2 separate regions of the Homo sapiens genome follow, and region 1 is linked to region 2. Evidence: promoter capture Hi-C in 16 types of primary human blood cells and fetal thymus (Javierre and others, 2016). All regions are on one chromosome and are shown on one strand. Each heading gives the region's core, a stretch centred on a gene start or on the middle of the fragment in contact. The rest is flanking DNA. Distances are from core to core; before and after follow the strand shown. Region 1 overlaps MYCBPAP (MYCBP associated protein). Region 2 holds the start of ANKRD40 (ankyrin repeat domain 40).

Region 1 (3,684 bases), core at 318-2,817, 190 kb before region 2:
CCTCAAGTGATCCTCCTGTGTCAGCCTCCTAAAGTGCTGGGATTACAGGCATGAGCCACCACACCTGGCCTGAAACGAAACATCTTCTGATCTCAATTCTGGCTACAGAAGTCTTAGTCACTGTGGTGAGCCAGGGGCTGTGGGTAGGGGGACCCTCCAGAGAGAACTCCCATTGCCCCAGCAAAGTGCTACCCAGGCCACCTTGGCAGCCTCTGCTATCTATCCAGCTGGTCAGCTCTGCCCCCCACCATGGAGTCTAGTATATATTTTTACTTTTATTTTTGTATGTATATATTGATATATACAGAAGGAGCTCTTTAAGGACTTAATAACTTTCTGCTTCTCTTCAGAAAAGAAGCGGGCAAAGGGACCTGAACAACCCACACCCACAATTCAGGAAGAGCCTGAACCTGTTAGCAATGTCCTACAAGGAGATGACATTCTTGCCTTGGCCATTAAGAAGGAAGACTTGAAGGAGGTGAGGATGAAGCCCAAGCTTCCCTTACCATAGAAACGTTTCCCTGCCGGCAGCCTGAGTGGTCTAGAACACCAGCCATGTCCCTACTCATGGGGAGTGTCTAACTCCATGGAAAAACCCACTGAACACAGATTCTTTTCACTTTACCACCTTAAGGAATTCACTGTGTTGTCTGTTTTAACATTTCTGAGATTCATATAGAACCACAGGGGAAATGAGATGATGAGGTATCTTGCTTCCCATAGAGGTAGGTGCCATCATTCCCATTTCACAGACCGGAGGATGAGTTTAAGGAGCCAAGGTACAGCTCTGGGTAAAGCTGCTAAACCCTAACCCCATGCTTTACCTGGGAGAGTCAGCCATCTCTCACCCAAACTGTCTGGAGGCATAAGATGTTCTTTTTTTTCCCTCCAGGATATTACTAAGTCACATATCTGTTACACAGGCATTTCCTTGACAGAACATATGGACAGAGCTGAAGAAACAGATCTGTCAGCCTTCAGGAACTCCACCCAGAACTAGAACAGAAGAGATGGGTGGTGCTCTTCCTCCTGCCACCACAGGTGGAATTCTCCTTTGTTTTATTTCTTTTTAGCAACACATTCCTCGCCTTACTGAAAAGGAAGATAAACGTGTCATCACCCAGAAATTTATCATCCGTAAACTCAAACCCATGGATCCTAGGAGGAAGGTCTGCCACCTTGTAGCACGTCCTGCGAATCCTGATGAAGCCACAAAGCCTCTGGACTACTCCGGTACACCCAGTCTCAGCCCTGGCTTCACTGTCTTTCAACTCATGGGTCAGCCTCAAGAGAAACCCAGTCTCCATCAGAAAGTTGCCCTCTTGAAAGTTGTCCACCCACAGCTTCTTTCCCCTTTCTTCTTTTATCCTCCCAGGTCCCGGTGACAGCTTCGATGGCAGTGACCAGATCCTGCCCCACCACATCTTGGGGAGTCTCCAGGATTTTAAGAGAATTGCACTTGCTCGAGGGAACACCCAGGTTTGTTTGCACAGAACTACCCGGATGAGAGCAGTCACTGAAGTCATTTTGGTCTCCCACCTGACACAGTCAAGCAGGGCTGGGGTTAAAGAGACAGTCTAGTCTGTAGGTTTTGAGTCTGAGTTGATAAGGGACCCTCTCCCAGAATAGTTGGACACTTCAGGCAGCTGAAGCTGGCTTCAGTGAAGTCAGGGATTTACTGTAAGGATTCCAGAGATTGCCTCATGGAACCCAAAGGCGGGAGTACCTGGGTCTGGGTAGACTGCACCCAAAAAGGCATCAGGACTCAGGGCCCACATGCCTCATTTCCCTCTGCTCTGTGCACTGTCTTGATTTTCCCTTCTCTGGAGACTGGCCTGCCCTCCTCAGTCCACGTGGTGGAGGAAGGTGGCTTCCCACTGCTTCCTGGGCCACGGGAAGATTCTGTATCTTTCCAGCCTTCCCATCATGCAGTGCTTCACCTGTCTCTTCCCCTTGCTTCCCTGGTTCCAGGCTGACTCTGATTGGTCAGGCGCTAAGGGGCCTGGGGCCCTGTAAGAATGCTTCCATTTACACATGGGTGAAGGTGGCAATCAACATCAGTTGTGAGGACAAATACACTAGATGTTGACCCCAATCTTGAAACAGAAGTTCCCTTTGTGGGGGAGAGTGGACTGACAGCTGCTTTCAGGGCCCCCTGGTTCTGGGATTTATTTTCTGTCACTGGCTACTCTGGAGTCCTGAAGAGGAGGGACTCTCAGCGCAGTGGGATAACAGCACGGGTTTAGGCCTCGGGAAATGTGTGCTCAGCCCTGCCCAGAGCCTTCTTACTGCCCTCCACATACCTATGTTGTACTTTTCAGCTGGCTGAGCGGATACCTACCTCACCCTGTCTGATGACCCTCATCTCTGCTGAAGGAGAGTCAAAGCAAAAAGCCCCAAAAGAAGAGAAGAGACCTCCCTGGGCCCCACCTCCTCAGCACAACTTTCTGAAAAACTGGCAGCGTAACACAGCCCTGCGGAAGAAGCAGCAGGAAGCCCTCAGCGGTGAGCAGAGCAGACAGGGCTCCCGCCCGGCCTCCATCTGGCAGCAAGGCTCTGCTGGGTTGTTTGCTCTCCTCCAGAGCCTGGCCTTGGGCTGACCACATTTGTGCTTTCACTCCCAAGAGTGTCTCACTCTGAAGCTTCAGTGGATCCTGAAATCAGCCCTGTGAGGGAGGCTGCCCGATGCAGACTGCCAAGGCCCCTGTTTGTTCTGGTTCGGCAGAGTGGCGGCAATCTTGCCTCTCTCTCTAGAACACCTAAAGAAGCCAGTGAGTGAGCTGCTCATGCACACCGGGGAGACCTACAGACGGATCCAGGAGGAGCGGGAGCTCATTGACTGCACACTTCCAACCCGGCGTGATAGGAAAGTGAGGCCACCTGTCCTAAGTGCCCGGGGGCAGGGGGGTCCATGGAGGAGGGGGCGGGGGCAGGTGTCTGGACACAGGGATGCTGGTCTCAGGTGGCACAGCTGGGGAGAAAAAACCTATCCATTGCAAAACATCATTAGGCCCTCAAGGCCTTTACTAAATTATATGATTAGTCAGTAAAGTTATTCAGCCTGTGGTGACCACACAGGTAGCAAGTTATTAGAGTAGTCTTAGTGTTTGTCTCCTAGGAGCTTAGACTGAGTGGAGCCTACACCCTAAAGAGAGAGGTTGAAGAGTCCCCCACCTTTTTTTCTGGTAGACCAGTGCAGTACCTGTACCAACCCACACCATCTGGCTGGGGGCAGGTAAAGATGACAACAGGGTGTCCAGAAAACACGGCAGTGGATGCTTCTGTTATGCAATCACGGCAGCAATGAATTCCCCAGAGGAAGCATCTGTAGCCTGTGGTGGTGCTCTTGTCTTCCCACATCTCCACCAGCATCTGGCTGAGGTGTCCTGGTAATCTGACTCACCTTTCCTTCCTTGCCAGAGCTGGGAGAACAGTGGGTTCTGGAGTCGACTGGAATACTTGGGAGATGAGATGACAGGTCTGGTCATGACCAAGACAAAAACTCAGCGTGGCCTCATGGAGCCCATCACTCACATCAGGAAGCCCCACTCCATCCGGGTGGAGACAGGTGAGGCGCAGGGCTGTAAGCCAGCTAGCATCTTGTGCCTGGCCCGGAGGCAGGGTAGTGTGGAAGTGGCCAGCATAGCTCTACAGTGAAACAGGCCCAGGGCCTGTTTCTCTGTG
Region 2 (3,921 bases), core at 421-2,920:
CCCAAGTAGCTGAGACTACAGGCATGCACCACCACGCCCAGCTAATTTTTGTATTTTTAGTAGAGACGGGGTTTCATCATGTTGGCCAGGATGGTCTTGATCTCCTGACCTCGTGATCCGCCCACCTCAGCCTCCCAAAGTGCTACTCACTTTAACTCTAAGCTAGCAAAATAGTCTGGCTAAGCATTACCTGAATCAAAATTTTAAATTTTAAATGCAGAGAGCGGAATAATGCCACATTCAGTAACTTTCTGTTTTGACCACCAGCAACATCTTAAGATGAGACTCCTTATTTAATTGGGAAGAATTCAATCTGCAGGCAGACATCTAAAGTCTTGGGTGACATTCTGTATTTGAAATTGTAATAAGAAAACTGGCCAGGAACGGTAGGCTCACATCTGTAATCCCAGCACTTTTGGAGGCTGAGGCGGGTGGATCACTTGAGGCCAGGAGTTTGAGACCAACCTGGCCCCATCTCTACCAAAAATACCAAAAAAAAAAAAAAAAAAAATTAGCCGGGTGTGGGGGCGCGTGCCTGTATTCCCAGCTATTTGGGAGGCTGTGGCAGGAGGATCACCTGAGCCGGGGAGGTAGAAGTTGCAGTGAGCCGAGACTATGCCACTGCACTCCACCCTGGGCGACAGGGCAAGACCCTGTCTCAAAAAAAAAAAAAAAAAAAAAAAAAAAAAGAAAGAAAATAATCGATAGGATAAACAAATGAGTTTTCCCTCAAACAGGCAACTACAGGCAGCAGCAGCAAATCGGTTGCAGTGAAACAACAGAGAAGCAGAATGGTGATGCAAATGTGTTTTTTTTTCCTGGTCTTGGCTAAGGAAATCGTGCTAGTTTATAAAATTCATATTTGCTCAGTTGCTTATGCTTTTAGCTCTGCAAGATGCGTTCTCCAGAAGCACCTACGGCAAATTAACTCAACACTCGAATTGGGGTGAGCTCCAACGCATAGTCGCTGAGAATCACTGCCTCCAGCACCGCTCTGACCAAGTGAGCCGGGAGCGCGGGGGAAGGGGGTAGGGCACCAGAGTCCCAGTGGGCGCTGCCCCGAGTGGACCACGTGGGCCGGGATTTGGGCAGGACGCGCTCCCGACCGCACGAGGCATGGGGGCCAGGGCTGGCCTCAAGAGAGCACAATCTCGGAGGCCCGAGGTGGCAGGCCTCGCCGTAGCCAGGCGTCCCGCGCTGGGCCCAGGTCGCGACTGACTGCCCCACGCCTTCCGACCGGCTGCCCTGACCCTAGGCCTCCCCCGCTCCCCACTTACCAGCCGTTGACCTCATTTTGGGAGTTCACATCCACCCCGCTCTCCACCAGTTTCTGCACCTCCCGAATGTCCCCTAAGGCCGCGGCCTCCCGCAGCCTCTCCTGCTGCTCCTTCTGCTCTAGGAGGGCGTTCATCTTCCCACAGCCCCAGGCCCCCGCCCAGGCCCGCCTGCCCCGCCCCGCCCGGGGCCTGTCAGCGCCGCCGCCGTCGCCGCGGCCCGCTCCCGGCCATGGGGAGGGAGCGCGGAACTCGCCCGCCCTGCTCGCGCCGCTGCCCGCGCCCGCCCCGGGACTTCCGCTCCCTCCCGCGGGCCGCCCCTGCTGCTCCCGGCCCGCAGGCCCAGGCCTCCTCCCGGGCCGCGCCTCCCGAAGGCCGGCTCCGGGGGACCCTGTTCAGTGTGACAACGCTGACCCAGATATTTTCCGTTCCGACCCGGGGCTCCGGCGCCCGGGCTGGCTGTTTATGTAACTACTGCACAATATTATATGCCATGATTCATTGACTATTTTTAGACTTCCCCACCCCGCAGTTTCAAGGGAGGAGGACAAGACACATGAAAAGAGAAAAAAGCATAGCTGAGGGCCAGAAAAGCCTTATCCTCTGGTGCAGGCTGTTTACCAGGCATCCAAAATAATTGGTGGGTTCTTTTTATTGGGATTTGGGGTTTTTTTGTTATTTTCCCCCAGTTTGGTTGGCTCCTTTTCCTTATCTGAGCCAATTCGTGCCCAGCAGGATGGGGAAATGGGCTGAAAACGATCCTACTATAATACGCCCATTATTACAGAGATAGATTAGACTCTTCTTCTTTTTGACAGTGCTTGGGGACAATTCAGTTAGAATATTTATTTCAATTGTTGTTGTTTTACATCTCATTTTAGACAGGATTTCTTCTAACCTGGCTTTCAGGAAAAATATTTATATTGTGCTCACAGTTTATGAACTGTAATTACTGCTTACAGATTGTAATTAGTTACTCTTCATGAAGGCCATATAAGGAGAAAAGAAAGGAAAAACACCAAAGAGGCTTTGGAGGTGTCCTGGTCCTGATTCCAAGTGCTCTGGGAAGAGCTGTGGTGTACATGTAAACAGCATTTTGCTTCACTTCTTGCCCGATCTATCTAATGAGGCTCAGAGCCTCAGTTGGCACTGTTTTATACCCAGTGGGAGAAAAAGGAAATATTGTTTTGTTGAGCCCAGGTGCCCTGAAGAGATCCTCCGATGTGGCACAGGATGGAACTTTACAGATGGGGTCAAGATTAAGGAAATAGCCCTGGGGAGGAAGGGAGGAAGGCCTGAACAAGGAGAGATGAAATAGGAAGGGATAAATTTAGGCATGGAGTTTTCATTTCCGTCTCTTGGGGCTGCTGGGATCTGCACAGCAAGCATTTTTCTTGCTACAGTTTAAGAAAAACCAATGTCTGTTTGTTTAGTATGATACAGTAATTCACACAGTACACAGTGCACACCAGGTGGTGCTGAATATAAACTGACTACACACTTAAATTGACCCCCATGGCAAATTGTAACCCTGCTTGAGCTTACATTTTCATTTGTTCCCCCAATTTAAATTTTAATTCTCACATCCAGCATGATACTCTATCTGAAACTGATGTGTATGGCACTGGATTTGAGTCCTTCAACACAATTTCAGTGACATGGGAGTAGGTAGTGGCTTGTTGTTTTTGTTTGCTTGTTTTTGAGACAGAGTCTCACTCTGTTGCCCAGGCTGGTGTTCGGTGGGGCGATCTCTGAGCTCCTTGCAACCTCTAAGTCCAGGTTCAGGCAATTCTCCTGCCTCAGCCTCCCGAGCAGCTGGGATTACAGGCCTGTGCCACCATGCTCGGCTAATTTTTGTATTTTTAGTAGACATGGGGTTTCACCATGTTGGCCAGTCTGGTCTCCAGCTCCTGACCTCATGTGATCTGCCAGCCTCAGCCTCCCAAAGTGCTGGAATTACAAGCATGAGCCACCGCGCCTGGCCTGTTTTTGTTTTTTTGTTGTTGTTGTTTTTTGTTTTTAATGCAGTTAAAAAAAATTGTTCGTGACTGCACCCCAAAGTCTATGAGTTCTTTTTTTTTTTTTTTTTTTTTTGAGATGGAGGAGTTTCGCTCTCATTGCCCAGGCTGGAGTGCAACAGCGCGATCTCGGCTCACCACAATCTCCACCTCCCAGGTTCAAGCGATTCTCCTGCCTCAGCCTCCTGAGTAGCTGGGATTACAGGCATGTTCCACCATGCCTGGCTAATTTTTTGTATTTTTAGTAGAGACGGAGTTTCTCCATGTTGCTCAGGCTGGTCTCAAACTCCCGACCTCAGGTGATCCGCCCGCCTCAGCTTCCCAAAGTGCTGGAATTACAGGCATGAGCCACCGCGCCCGGCCCCCAAAGTCTATGAGTTCTCTTTATGAGAGTTTGTCAAATGTCCCTTCCTTAAAAGGATTATAGCATGTACCCTACATAACTGCTGTATCCGTGAATATTAGTAGATCTTCTTAAACTCAACCTCTACTTACTCTGATTTCAGTCTTCTGTTTATTATCTTCAGATTAAAAAAAACAAAATTTTATCCACAAACAAAACTTCTGATCTTGGATATAACTGAATGTAACCTGCTGGCTGTTCTATTACTACTTCCATTTATCTCTAC

Evidence for each region. The method cuts DNA at HindIII sites, captures the fragments that hold promoters and counts their contacts. A CHiCAGO score of 5 or more calls a contact.
Region 1: a contact is called between a fragment that was not itself captured here and the fragment with the promoter of ANKRD40 in region 2, in 2 of 17 cell types (M0 macrophages and megakaryocytes). The highest score is 6.6, in M0 macrophages.

What each region holds. Positions count from the first base shown.
Region 1 is chr17:50,516,220-50,519,903 of GRCh38, forward strand. MYCBPAP (MYCBP associated protein) reads left to right here. Exons shown (of 19, transcript NM_032133.6): 2 at 351-478; 3 at 1,074-1,233; 4 at 1,376-1,479; 5 at 2,322-2,505; 6 at 2,755-2,870; 7 at 3,421-3,568. Among named protein-coding and RNA genes, the nearest start is that of MYCBPAP, 9.6 kb to the left of the region's middle. The HindIII fragment of the contact is 2,146 bases long and covers 495-2,640 here.
Region 2 is chr17:50,706,244-50,710,164 of GRCh38, forward strand. ANKRD40 (ankyrin repeat domain 40) reads right to left here and starts at 1,671. Exons shown (of 5, transcript NM_052855.4): 1 at 1,278-1,671. The coding sequence starts at 1,411. RefSeq lists silencers at 1,007-1,276, 1,407-1,616. The HindIII fragment of the contact is 9,335 bases long and covers 1-3,921 here.